Linked DNA regions of Homo sapiens: region 2 is linked to region 1. Evidence: promoter capture Hi-C in 16 types of primary human blood cells and fetal thymus (Javierre and others, 2016). All regions are on one chromosome and are shown on one strand. Each heading gives the region's core, a stretch centred on a gene start or on the middle of the fragment in contact. The rest is flanking DNA. Distances are from core to core; before and after follow the strand shown.

The links. Contacts are between HindIII fragments. The CHiCAGO score rates a contact against its expected background, and 5 or more counts as called.
Region 2: a contact is called between a fragment that was not itself captured here and the fragment with the promoter of TRNAU1AP in region 1, in 5 of 17 cell types (total CD4 T cells, non-activated CD4 T cells, total CD8 T cells and 2 more). The highest score is 6.4, in total CD4 T cells.

Annotation. Positions count from the first base shown.
Region 1 is chr1:28,548,666-28,555,011 of GRCh38, reverse strand. It overlaps TRNAU1AP (tRNA selenocysteine 1 associated protein 1), which reads right to left and starts at 1,927. Exons shown (of 9, transcript NM_017846.5): 1 at 1,875-1,927; 2 at 1,275-1,372. The coding sequence starts at 1,901. RefSeq lists silencers at 621-915, 1,848-1,987 and enhancers at 2,138-2,197, 1,921-2,215. The HindIII fragment of the contact is 4,615 bases long and covers 1,542-6,156 here.
Region 2 is chr1:29,165,691-29,172,208 of GRCh38, reverse strand. All of the region lies in intron 1 of SRSF4 (serine and arginine rich splicing factor 4), which reads left to right. It also overlaps a transcript of MECR not described here. Among named protein-coding and RNA genes, the nearest start is that of SRSF4, 13 kb to the left of the region's middle. The HindIII fragment of the contact is 921 bases long and covers 828-1,748 here.

The sequences.
Region 1 (6,346 bases), core at 678-3,177:
CCCTTCTCGCCTCCCGAAGTGCTGGGATTACAGGCATGAGGCACCGCACCCATCCTCCACAATTTTTTAAATGAATGGCATAAGAGTTAAGGGCCCTCATGAGCTTTCAGGATAGACTCGAATTCAAGTCCTGACTTGTTATTTATTATAACTCTTTTTTTTTTTTTTTGAGACAGAGTCTCAGCTGTCGCCCAGGCTGGAGTGGAGTGGAGCGATCTCGGCTCACTGCAAGCTCCGCCTCCTGGGTTCACGCCATTCTCCTGCCTCAGCCCCCCAAGTAGCTGAGACTACAAGTGCCCGCCACCATGCCCAGCTAATTTTTTTTGTATTTTTAGTAGAGATGGGGTTTCACCGTGTTAGCCAGGATGGTCTCAATCTCCTGACCTCGTGATCCGGCCTGCCTCGGCCTCCCAAAGTGCTAGGATTACAGGCGAGAGCCACTGCGCCCGGCTATTTATTGTAACTCTTCAAGTTATTAAGCCTCTTCATAATAGTATTTACCTACCTCAGAAGTTTCTGAGGTTTTAAGGAGATAATGGATGTAAACTGCTTATTACTCAGCAGATCGTAATCTGACTATACTTACTGAGCATATGCTATATGCCATACACTGTCCTAATGATGAATGTGAATTAACTCATTTAATCCTCACCATAACTCTAGGAGGTAGGTGCTGTTATTTCCATTTTTATACTCAAAGTGAATGAGACAGAGCAGTTAAGTAACTTACCCAAGGTCATAGAGTAGAAATAGCTTTCAAACCCAGTCTCGCTTGAGTCCTGCGTTTTTTGTTTTTTTGTTTTTTTTTTTTTTGAGACATTGTTTTGCTCTTGTTGTCCAAGCTGAAGTACAGTGGCACGATCTCAGCTCACTGCAACCTTCGCCTCCCGGGTTCAAGTGATTCTCATGCCTCAGCCTCCGGAGTAGCTGGGGTTACAGGTGCCTGCCACCACACCCGGCTAATTTTTGTATTTTTAGTAGAGACGGGGTTTCACCATGTTGGCCAGGCTGGTCTCAAACTCCTGACCTCAGGTGATCCACCCACCTCAGCCTCCCAAAGTGCTGGGATTACAGGTGTGAGTCACAACGCCTGGCAAGTCCTACCCTTAAGCTACATGCCATCCTTCCACTCATTGGGACCTCAAAATGTTAGCTGTTATAATTTTACAGTGACTATTACTAGGGGTAGTGAGAAGCCATGACTACGATGTTTACATTCTCGTACATGACAGCTGCAACGAGATGTATTAAGAGAGACCTGAGATGAGACTTACCCAGTGAGGCGGTTTCGGATAATTTTGACGCTCATTACGGTCTCCCCCATGGTGGCAAAGGCTCTGGAGATGAAGTTCTCATCCATGTAGGGTTCCAGCTGCGTAAAAACAAGAGCACAGCGGCTCAGGCCGGCGGCCGGGCTTCCCACTCCGGGTTCCAGAGCCCCTCCCGTTCAGCCCAGGGCTGGCTACGCGCCGCTGGGGGAGCGAGGGGCGAGGTTCGCCTCCACTGAGCGGCCTGAAACCCCAGCTCTTTTGGTTCAAGCTTGCCCCGCTTTAGGGAGCCTCCCCTTGGACCTAGAAACCCCACTCCTCCGGTCCCAGAACAGCGCGCCTCAGTCCTTGGATTGCTCCCATTCTATGTCCCCAAAGCACCACCTTTCCCTCCCACGAACCCAGGTGGGGCCCCAGGACCCCTAGCCTCACGGACTCAGCCTCTTCACTTAGATGCTGGAACCCGCTTCTGTGTCACCAAAAAGAACCCCCGTCACACGTCTCCCCTTTCTGGGATCCCAAGTCCCCTCCCACTCAGATCCTTCCTCTCTCGCGAAACCGAGATGCTTCCTTGTCTTCAGACCCCGGACGGCTGCCCTCACTCACGTCGCCCATCCACAGGCTGGCCGCCATACCCGCGCACCGGGGTGGGGCTTTGCGGGCGGGGCTCTGCGGGCGGGGCTCGAAGGCCCGCGCGGGCGCCAATCCTGGCTGCGGAGACCGCTACAGAGCATGCGCCTCCGACGGCTTCTGCGCAGGCTCCCGAGCGCAGCGGCCCGGGTCGGGCAGTGTGTTCAGCTCCGGGTTTTTCCTGCAACCCACTGGGCGCTAGGCTTCCGGATCGCGGTGGGCGGAGTTCAGGCTGGAATGGGGCGGGCCAGATACCACCTGGCCCAGGCGGCTGGGTTACTTGGGTTTATTTCTGACTTTATATATTTAGAAAACAAACAAAACTACACACACACACTCGTCTGACTTTATATAGAAAACAAAACCACACACACACAGACACATATAATTACAACATTAATATATGCTCGTTAGGGCTGGGCACGGTGGCTCACGCCTGTAATCCCAGCACTTGAGGAGGCCGAGGCGGGCGGATCACGAGGTGAAGAAATCGAGACCATCCTCGCCAACAGGGGGAAACCCCCTCTCTACTAAAAGTACGAAAATTAGCGGGCGTGGTGGCGAGCGCTGGTAGTCGCAGCTACTCGGGAGACTGAGGCAGGAGAATCGCTTAAACCCAGGGGGCAGAAGTTGCAGTGAGCCGAGATAGCGCCATTGCACCGCAGCCTGGTGACAGAGCAAGACTCCATATATATACATACACACACACACACACATACACATATATATACACATATATACACATATACACACATAATACACATATACACATATATACACACATACACATATATATACATATATACACACACACACACACATATATATGTATGCTCGTTACTTGGGTTAATTTCTGACTTTACATATTTAGAAAACAAACAAGGCCGGGCGCGGTGGCTCACGCCTGTAATCCCAACACTTTGGGAGGCCGAGGTGGGCAGATCACGAGGTCAGGAGATCGAGACCATCCTGGCCAACATGGTGAAACCCCGTCTCTACTAAAAATACAGAAATTAGCCGGGTATGATGGTGTGCACTTGTAGTCCCAGCTACTCAGGTGGCTGAGACAGGATAATCACTTGAACCCGGGAGGCAGAGGCTGCAGTGAGCCGAGATCGCGCCACTGCACTCCAGCCTGGGCGACAGAGTGAGACTCTGTCTCAAATTAAAAAAAAAACAAAAAACAAAAAACATACACACGTACACACACACACAAACACACACATAATTACAACATTAATATATGCTCGTTGTAAAAAACTGCAGATACAAGTGCATCCAAAAAAGTGAAAATATCCCTCCGGACAACCCGGTTCCACTACCTCCCTATTGTTACCAGGGGTTCTTAGGCTCTCAATCCAACAGAAATTAACATGAGGCCAAAAAAGTTTTCCCAGACAAGTCTTCATTGGAGCTTATGCCTGGGTATAAGGGAGGCAGCACAAGAGAGCGAGAATTCCCTGACTCTCCGAAAAGAGCTGGTTGAGATGTTTTATTGGGCAAAGCACGGAAAGTGATATCAAGTGTAGGGTTTACAGGCTGGGCAGGACAAAGCTCATGAGGGTGGGGTATGAAGGTCAGCATATCCTGTTGTAATGATTATCTTTTTTTTTTTTTTTGAGACGGAGTCTTCCTTTGTCGCCCAGGCTGGAGTGCAATGGCACAATCTCGGCTCAGAATAGCTAGAATCTAGCCTCCTGGGTTCTAGCTATTCTCCTGCTTCACCTCCTGAGTAGCTGGGATTACAGGCGCCCACCACCAGGCACAGCTAATTTTTGTATTTTCAGTAGAGACGGGGTTTCACCATGTTGGTCAGGCTGGTCTCGAACTCCTGACCTGAGGTGATCCACCCACCTCGGCCTCCCAAAGTGCTGGGATTACAGGCGTGAGCCACCCATCGCGCCCAGCCAATGATTATCTTTAGTACTGGGCTACCTGGTAGTTTGGCTGTCAGCAACAAGGCTGTAAATGAAGTTTTCAGCATTTCTTCCTGAGATGAGACATTCCACAACCTTGGTTGGATAATTTGGATCTCCTAAGGCCAGATCCTAGAATTATTTTTATTTTATTTATTTATTTATTTATTCAGTTGGTCAGTCATTCTGAGAGAGGGTCTCTCTCTGTCGCCCAGGCTGGAGCGCATTGGCACAATCTTGGCTTATTGCAGCCTCAAACTCCCGGACTCAAGTGATCCTCCTGCCTCAGCCTCCAGAGTAGCTGGCACTACAGGTGTGCACCCCCACAGCTGGCTAATTTTTTTTTTTTTGCAGAGAGGAGAGCTCACTATGTTGGCCAAGCTCATTTTGGACTCCTAGGCTCAAGCGATCCTCCTGCCTTGGCCTCCCAAAGTGCTGGGATTATAGGTGTGAGCCACAGCGCCCAGCCTCTTTTTTCTTTTCTTTCTTTTTTTTTTTTTTTTTTTTTTTTTGTTTGAGACGGATTACAGCCACCTGCCACCATGCCTGGCTAGTTTTTTTTTTTTTTTTTTTTTTTTTTTATTTTTAGAAGAGGCAGGGTTTCACTATGTTGGCCAGGCTGGTCTAGAACTCCTGACCTCATGATCCCCCCACTGTGGCCTCCCAAAGTGCTGGGATTACAGGCGTGAGCCACCACGCCTGGCTTCTTTTTTCTGCTTTCTTTTTTTTTTGTAGATCCTGGAATTCTTTAATTAAAGGGCATGGTTACACATTATAAGAGCACAAAAGAACAATATATAATGGCTATTTTTCTTTATATGACTAAAGCCTCAGAGTTAGTGGGTATGGTGGTGTGGGTTTTTGTTTTTTCTTTTGAGACAGAGTCTCGCTCTCGCCCTGGCTGGAGTGCAGTGGTGTGATCTCAGCTCACTGCAAGCTCCGCCTCCCAGGTTCATGCCAGTCTCCTGCCTCAGCCTCCCAAGTAGCTGGGACTACAGGCGCCCACTACCATGCCTGGCTAGTTTTTTTGTATTTTTAGTAGAGACGGGGTTTCACCGTATTAGCCAGGATGATCTCAATCTCCTGACCTCGTGATCCACCCACCTCAGCCTCCCAAAGTGCTGGCATTACAGGCGTGAGCCACCACGCCCACCAATTTTTTTGTATTTTTAATAGAGACGGGGTTTTGCCATGTTGGCCAGGCTGGTCTCAAACTCCTGTCCTCAGGTGATCCATCTGCCTCAGCCTTTCCAAGTGTTGAGATTACAGGCGTCAGCCACCATGCCTGGCATCCTTATGAGAATCTAATACCTGATGATCTGTCACTGTCTCCCAACAACCCCAGAGGGGACTGTCTAGTTGCAGGAAAACAAGCTCAGGGCTCCCACTGATTCTACATTATGGTGAGTTATATAATCATTTCATTATATATTACAACGTTACATTAATAATAATAAAGTGCACAATAAATGTAATGCGCTTGAGTAATCCCCAAACCATCCCCTGTCCGTGGAAATTGTCTTCCACAAAACCAGTCCCTGGTGCCAAAAAAGGTTGGGAACTGCTGCTCTAGTCTTGGTGAGCTGAAGCCAAGCCCTGTTCTTACTGTCTCACTGTGACCCAGGGCAAGCCACTGCTCTGTGCAAGCCATTCCCTCACTCCAGGTTTACCAGTCTGAAAAACATGAGTCTTGTTGGAGCCGGAATGGGATTCTTCCTTCATTCCCATATAGGGCCCTGGGGTGGGAGGTGGGAAGAATTAAAAGGAGTGTAAATTGGAGTAACCTTGTCATCTGGCAACCAATCAGTCCCCAAGTTCTGTCACTCTATTTTTATTTATTTATTTATTTATTTTTGAGATGAAGTTTTGCTCCTGTTGCCCAGGCTGGTGTGCAGTGGTGCTATCCTGGTCACTGCAACCTTTGCCTCCTGGGTTCAAGCGATCCTCCTGCCTCAGCCTCCCAAGTAGCTAGGATTACAGGCTGGCGCCACCACGCCCAGCTAATTTTTGTATTTTTAGTAGAGATGGGGTTTCACCATGTTGGCCAGGCTGGTCTTGAACTCTTGACCTCAGGTGAACCACCTGTTTGGGCCTCCCAAAGTGCTAGGATTACAGGTGTGAGCCACAGCTCCCGGCCTCTATTTTCTTGAGTCCCACTACCCTACTCCAAATCACCTGGAGTTCTGACTAGTCCCAGAACAGTGACCTGCCCACAGTGTGCCGTCATAAACACAATTTAGATGGCTAGACAATCCAGACAGTTTAATTTTGAGATGCTCCTACTCTGGGAGTATCCCAGGCCTCTGACTTACTTTGGTGCCCAGTCGTCAGTATGGAAAGCTTCTTCTGTATGTAGTAATTGGCATCTCTGACAGTGAAACCCACTCCAAGTGTTTTAAGGCCACTTTCTGGGGCTCCCTCTGGACTAATGGGCACCCAAAGTCCTTTCCTACCAGTCTATACATCCTCAACTTAGGATGTTGTGCTCTCAAGCCAGAGACTCATCAGTCTGAAAACCTGAGGTTCAACCAC
Region 2 (6,518 bases), core at 39-2,538, 620 kb before region 1:
AGCATTCTGTCATTGTTTTATTAGTAATATAACTATTACAAATGTGATCAAATTTTTTTTTATTAAAAGTCACTTTTTAAAGTCAACTTACCCCCCAAAAAAGTGTATTATTTTTTTCCCCCAATATATGGGGAATTTAATTTTTTTCTGTCATTTTGAAAAATCAATGCCAAGAGATAATACCATATTGAGATTTTTGACCAAATGTTAACAGCGTAAATTGCCCTGGTTCAAGACCTCCACTCCTTGGTTCTTGGTCCCTTCAGTTTGTGGTATGAATAAACATCATTTGTAATTATTTGACTAAGTCATTTAAAATCCCTGTTCTTCAGTTTAATATACTGTTTTGCTCCTCCTTTCTCATTGAGGTACTGTATGAATTTAAGGGCCATACGAAGTATTTGTCCCTTCTTAAAAGATAGGCACAGGATATAGACTCGGTAATAAAATGTGGTTTGGGTTTCTAGTATTTTTTTATGCTTCCAGGTACCCAGAACCGCAAATTTTACTTTGAGCTCCTCAGAAGAAAGGTGCTCCAGGCATCTGAGAGAATACCGTTGGGGTGATACTTACAAATTTGTAAGCTAACACTGAAATCTTAAAACTTCCGAAAATATTAATGCATTTGTATGACTTATTTTTCAACTGAGTATGTCAAAGTACTTTATGAACAAGTGTTGTCCCTAGTTTGTACTGATGGGGAAACTGAGGCATGGGGTGATAAGGTGACTGGCCCAAGGTTACAAAATGAGTTATTGACAACTCCGGAAATAGAAGATTTTTTAAATTCCCATACTAGATACATGTGGGCATTGACATTCAAAGCTTCCCTCATGCTATTTCCTTTAGTCCTGTCCTTTGGGGATTGCCTCTGAGGGTGAGAGGGTAGTTCAGGTTTCCGGGCTTGTTCAGCCTTTAGTCTCTGTAGAGGCTTCCAGCAAGCTGACAAGTTACTGCCAAAAGTGAGACAGATGGTATTTTTTATGATGTTGTCCTTAGTTGGAGACTGCTAGTGATTCTCCTCCTCAGGCTACTCTTTGAAAAGCTGTAAGGTGGTATCAGCTTTATCGTGGTTGGCTGAGGAAGGATTTGTACAAGTAAATGTTCTCTGCCTTATTGTCATTCCTAGGGCCGTCTGGTCTTATAGTACCCTGAAGGTGAGGGATTAGATTATGCTCTGAATTTGTATGCCCATAGTTTGAGGAAATGTTTTACTTGAGTTTTCTGTGTGTTGAGATGAAAGTCTCCCAGGCTAAAGATTTCTGAACTGCACGCAATGTCTGAAGAAGCGCTTGAAAGGCACTTTATTTCTCCCAGGTCCCCAACCATGGGTTTAGGTTTTTATGCCAGAAAGGGGACCTTCATGAACAAAGACCCCCAAGACCTAGAGAGAAGAGGAAGTCTGAAAGAGGGAGGTTTGAATTCAGCCTTCAGGAATGAAGAGGGCAGACAGAGCAGGAGGCTCAGGCAAGGGAGTCAGGAACCACAGACCAGAAACATGGACTTGGAAAGGTTTTCATGTAATTGAAATGAAGCTATTGATCCATCCATTTTAAAAGAATTTGAAAAATTCATTAAAATACTTAATTAGTGGCATCCACTAATTAATAAAAGCATAGGGAGTGGCATCTTTAACCAAAAATGAAAATGAAGAAACAGACTCCAGCCCAGGGACCAGGGGCGATTATGAGGGACATGGTGCCTCATACAGCCAAGATGATCCAAGAGGCATCATCTTTAATGAAGCTTTAACACCTGGCAGCCTGCTCATTGTGTTGTTTAAGAGGTAAGTATGAACTGGTTTTGTTTGTAGCTTTTGTGTGGAATCAGGTAGTGCTGTCTGCAGAGTGTAAACCTTTATTTCTTTAAGTAGGAATAACAGATAAAGTAATTCTATATTAAATCCCAAGAGTTTTATTCTAAATTGGTAATGTGACTTTCATCTCTCGAGTTTTTTCAAATCGTTTTTAATTTGTGGTTGAGTCTTCACGAACTTCTTGTCATCAGGCAATAGTTGATTCCCCTTTTTTGAAAGCTTTCAATTTCATTTATCCTTAGTGTTGAAAAGTGTCAGAAAATTGAAATGGACACAGATGATTGTATCTGCCCTCCCTTTCAGGAAAGCCATGTTGACTTTAAAATATCAAAAAAGAAAGTTCAGTTATGATTGCAGGGGGTAATGATAGTTTGATCCACAAACTATTTGCAGTGTAAAAGTGAAATACCTTAGCTGACTTAGTTCATTTTTGAAAGTTTTGAATAGCTAAAACAAAGTTGGCAAATAGGCTCATAGAGTAGTTACAGAGTAAGACTAAATTCATATTTGATGCAGATTCCTCTCTACCTCCCATTCTGGGAGGATTTAGTTTTACTGTTTGGTGTTTAGGATAATGATTGTTCTGTTTTTCTCACCCTACTATGTGAATATATATTCTGTTAGAGATGGGCTGTTATCTGCAATGTGGACTCAATACCATGGGCTTGAGTTTGGTTAGTTCATCATTAGAGATTTTTTTTCAGCAGTTGGTTTACTTTATGAGAAAGGATCATGAGTTTAATTTTCCCACTGATATATTTGTGTTCTCATTGCTGAGATATAAGTTTCTTAATGATTTGTTACCTTTTTCTATTTTCCTAGACTAGTATTAAAATTTTGATGGCATATGGGTTTGGTTCCACTTGTAGAGAATAAATGTTCACAACTTACTGGTATTAGCACACACACATCACATGCAGAAATGGTGTTTTCTTGCCACTTACTCTTTCTCATAAGATGCTTATATTCCTGTGGGCATTTGTCTTCCACACTACAGCACATAATTTGATGAAACTGATTTTCTGTGCAAGAGCTTGTGTTTCTCCAACTCTGGTTTTATGGACCACTTTTCATTGGTATATAGGAGGCGGTTAAAACGTGGTGGTAGAATGCAGGTTTTAGGTTAGCTGGGTGTGAAGAATCCCAGGTCTTTGGGATAGTCTTGGCAAGTTACTCAACTCCTCTAAGTTAGTTTCTTGATCTGTCAGATGACAGTAAACCTCAGAGTTGTGAAAATTAAATGGATATAATGTGTGTAAAGCACTTAGCATAATGCTTTATACATCGTAAAACTTTCAAAAATAGGAGTAGTAATTATTACAAAGAAATGTGAAGAAGAGTCCTAGTGGGCTGCATGTTAAAAATAGTTTTTAGTTAATGAAAATTAAATCACATCTTAGATGTTTATCATCTGCATGGTACTTTTCTGGTTGCTGCTTTAACCTTTGTATAGTTGAAAGTCTGTAAACTTTCTAGTATTCTTTGATTTCTGGCCCATTTCCCTCCTACCATTCACGCTTATATTTTTTGGTTCAAGTCACCATTCCTTGCAAAACTAATTAAATACATTCCTAAATACATAATATTGCCAATATTCATTCACATCCACCACGTCTAGATCCAAGTCTTCATCTTCTTTATGCTGGTCTAATTTTTGCTGAGCCTTAGAAGCAAAGACAGACTCCGGGGGTTGATATGGGACCTCCAGAATGGGGATTGCACAGAATAATCTTATTTTTCCTCTATTCTTCTAGTCTGTTATGTTCTGAACCCACACATGTTTTCGGAAGGACCAGATGGCTGACACTGGCTAATGGGAACCAAAAGACGAGTGAAAGTAACCTGGTTGTCACATACCCCCAGCTTAGAGGTGCTTCACCCTGCCCCAAGGTCAATTTCTTTTTTCTCTAGAGACTTTACCCCATTATATCAAAAACCTTTACTACAGCCTGACTTTATCTGATGTTAGAGTATCATTAAGTCAAGCAGCAGCATTTATTGAGTGAAAAAAGATTGTACACAGGACTGGAAGAGAAGCATCTGCCTTTAAAATACAGTAGAAGGCCGGGCATGGTGGCTCATGCCTGTAATTCTAGCACTTTGGGAGGCCAAGGCAGGTGGATTGCCTGAGCTCAGGAGTTCGAGACCACCCTGGGCAACATGGTGAAACCCTGTCTCTCCTAAAAAAAAAAAAAAAAAAATTACAAAAAATTTGCCGGGCATGGTGGTGCACACCTGTAGTCCCAGCCACTCTAAAGGCTGAGGTACAAGAATTGCTTGAGCCCAGGGTCAGAGGTTGCAGTGAGTGGAGATCGCGCCGCTGCGCTGCAGCCTGCGCGACAGAGCGAGACTATGTTTTTTTTAAAAAAAAAAAAAAAAAGGAATTAGAACCTTGTGGTTTAGAGCTGGGATTTTTAGAGTCATGGGTCTGGGTTCAAATCTAGCTCCTTCACTCATGAGCTCCTTGAAAATGAGCAAGTTGCTTACTCCAAGCCTCAGTTTCTCATTGTAAAATGAGAAGAATAATAATACATTCTTCACATTTGATATACAAATGGATGAAATATTATGGATAAATTATTTACTGTGCCAGGCACTGTGCTAAATAGCCAACAGATATTAGCCTTCGTTTTTCTTAGTGAAGAGCTCATAATCAAAAGAGAAGGTAAGCACAAAGACAAAAACAAGACTTAAAAAGCTACAGAAACATGACTGGGCACAGTGGCTCACGCCTGTAATCCCAGCACTTTGGGAGGCTGAGGCGGCCATATCACAAGGTCAGGAGTTTGAGACAAGCCTGACCAACATGGTGAAACCCCGTCTCCACTAAAAATATAAAAATTAGCTGGGCGTGGTGGCGTGTGCCTGTAATTCCAGCTATTCAAGAGGCTGAGGCAGGAGAACTGCTTGAACCTGGGAGGTGGAGGCTGCAGTGAGCCAAGATTGTGCCTTTGCACTCCAGCCTGGGCAACAGAGCGAGACTCCATCTCAAAAAAACAAAAACAAAAAGCGTAAAATTGAATAGAAGTGCTAAAGCTAAAGAAAGTCCTAAAATAATTGGAATAGGCAAGTTTCTGAGGCTTCATGAAAGAGGTAATTCTCAAGCATATGGAAGAAGATTGATATAATTCAACTTGTGTAGTCAAGGTGTTCCAGGTTTAGAGAGTGACATAAAGATACTTAGGAGTCGTTATAGACTTCTAAACAAAAAAATGATTTAGTAGCTGACTTTTCCTGACACAATGCAAAAGACAAGTTGACTAAGTAAAAATAGCTCTAGCCTAGAATTACATAAATTAATCCAAATGGTAGAGACAGCCCTGAAGGCCCAGCAAATGAGAAAACTGCAGAACTTGGCAGTAGACCCAGTGGGTAACCAATAAGATATAGTCAGAAGTGATTACAAAGGTGTTGGGAGCAAATTAGATGGTCAAGGGATCCGGAAGAGAGAAATCATGAGGTAGGTTTTCTTCTTTGAAGGTGGGGAAAGATCAAGTGCAGACTGAGCTGTGGCCAACGTTTGCAGACCAGGAATCCACACTAGCTCTAATCAGAGAGCCCTTGGTGTGCGGGAACTGCCAGTTTGCCGACGTGAAAAGAGTCCCAGACTGGGTAATGGTGAGCCCTGAAGTCGCACCCCAGCTCTGCCACTCAGTGAGCACGGGTAAGTCATCCACCTCCTCCAGGTGGCCTTGATGGCCCTCCCTCCTCTGAGACTAAAGAGAGGCCACAATGCCCAGAGCAGCCTCCTTCCTGTCTCAAGAAAGGAAAGGATCTCAGGAACCCATTTCATGTGGTAGCAGCTTTTAGTTGTGGGTTGTAAACAACCCTCTGTTGCCAGGAAAGTCAAATTGCAACCATAATCACTGATCCTGAGCAGTAAATGTGACATTGGTTAATTCTTCTGTGAGGGCCTGAACGCTGGTTCCCTGGAATGTTGCAGACCTTTGGAATCGGGGCAGTTACACTGTTCTCATTCACAAGCTTTTCTCTGAGTTGGCCTCTTCTGAGCACTAGAGTTGGTTGCAGAAGTGTCTTTCTACAGTTTGCCAAGCACTTTATGCAGACAGCAAGAATTACCGTTTTTTTAGTACTGTCCTATCAGTGTGTCCTGACTTTTTACCTCATAAGACCAAGTTGGCTGAAGCATAGGACATCACTGAGTGCTTTGAAACAAAGCTGTTTGATTCCTGTTCACTGAATGCCATTTCTTTCAGGGTAGATTTAAGGACTTTCCCCTTAAAGTACAGTGCTACTGACTCTAGATTGAGGGTTCAAGCCACCCCGTGGGTTAACTTCAACAGATGAAAATTTTTCCTTGGCTACAGCAACATCCCTAATCCTGACCAGCCATGGAGAGGTTCGGTTCTTACAAGGAAAATGAGTGAATGTGGGAATGGCTCACCACATTGTGAAAACAAAACTCACATCCTGCTGATGGTTGGCTGAGGACTGTCATGTCCACATACAAAGAAAAGCATGTGGCACAGTTTTAGGACAAAGGTGAGCAGAGATCCACCGTGGAAAGGGGCATATTTTCTTATAGAGAGACCATCCAAGGCATGCCCCTCGGTAAGCAGTGTTGGTGGGTGACCACGGTCACACGCATGGAGGCTTGCTTTCCCCTGCTCCTCATACCCACTCCCTAGCAGTTTCTGGTATTGAGCACCCCCTTAGTCATGCCTTGCCCAGTTAGCCATTG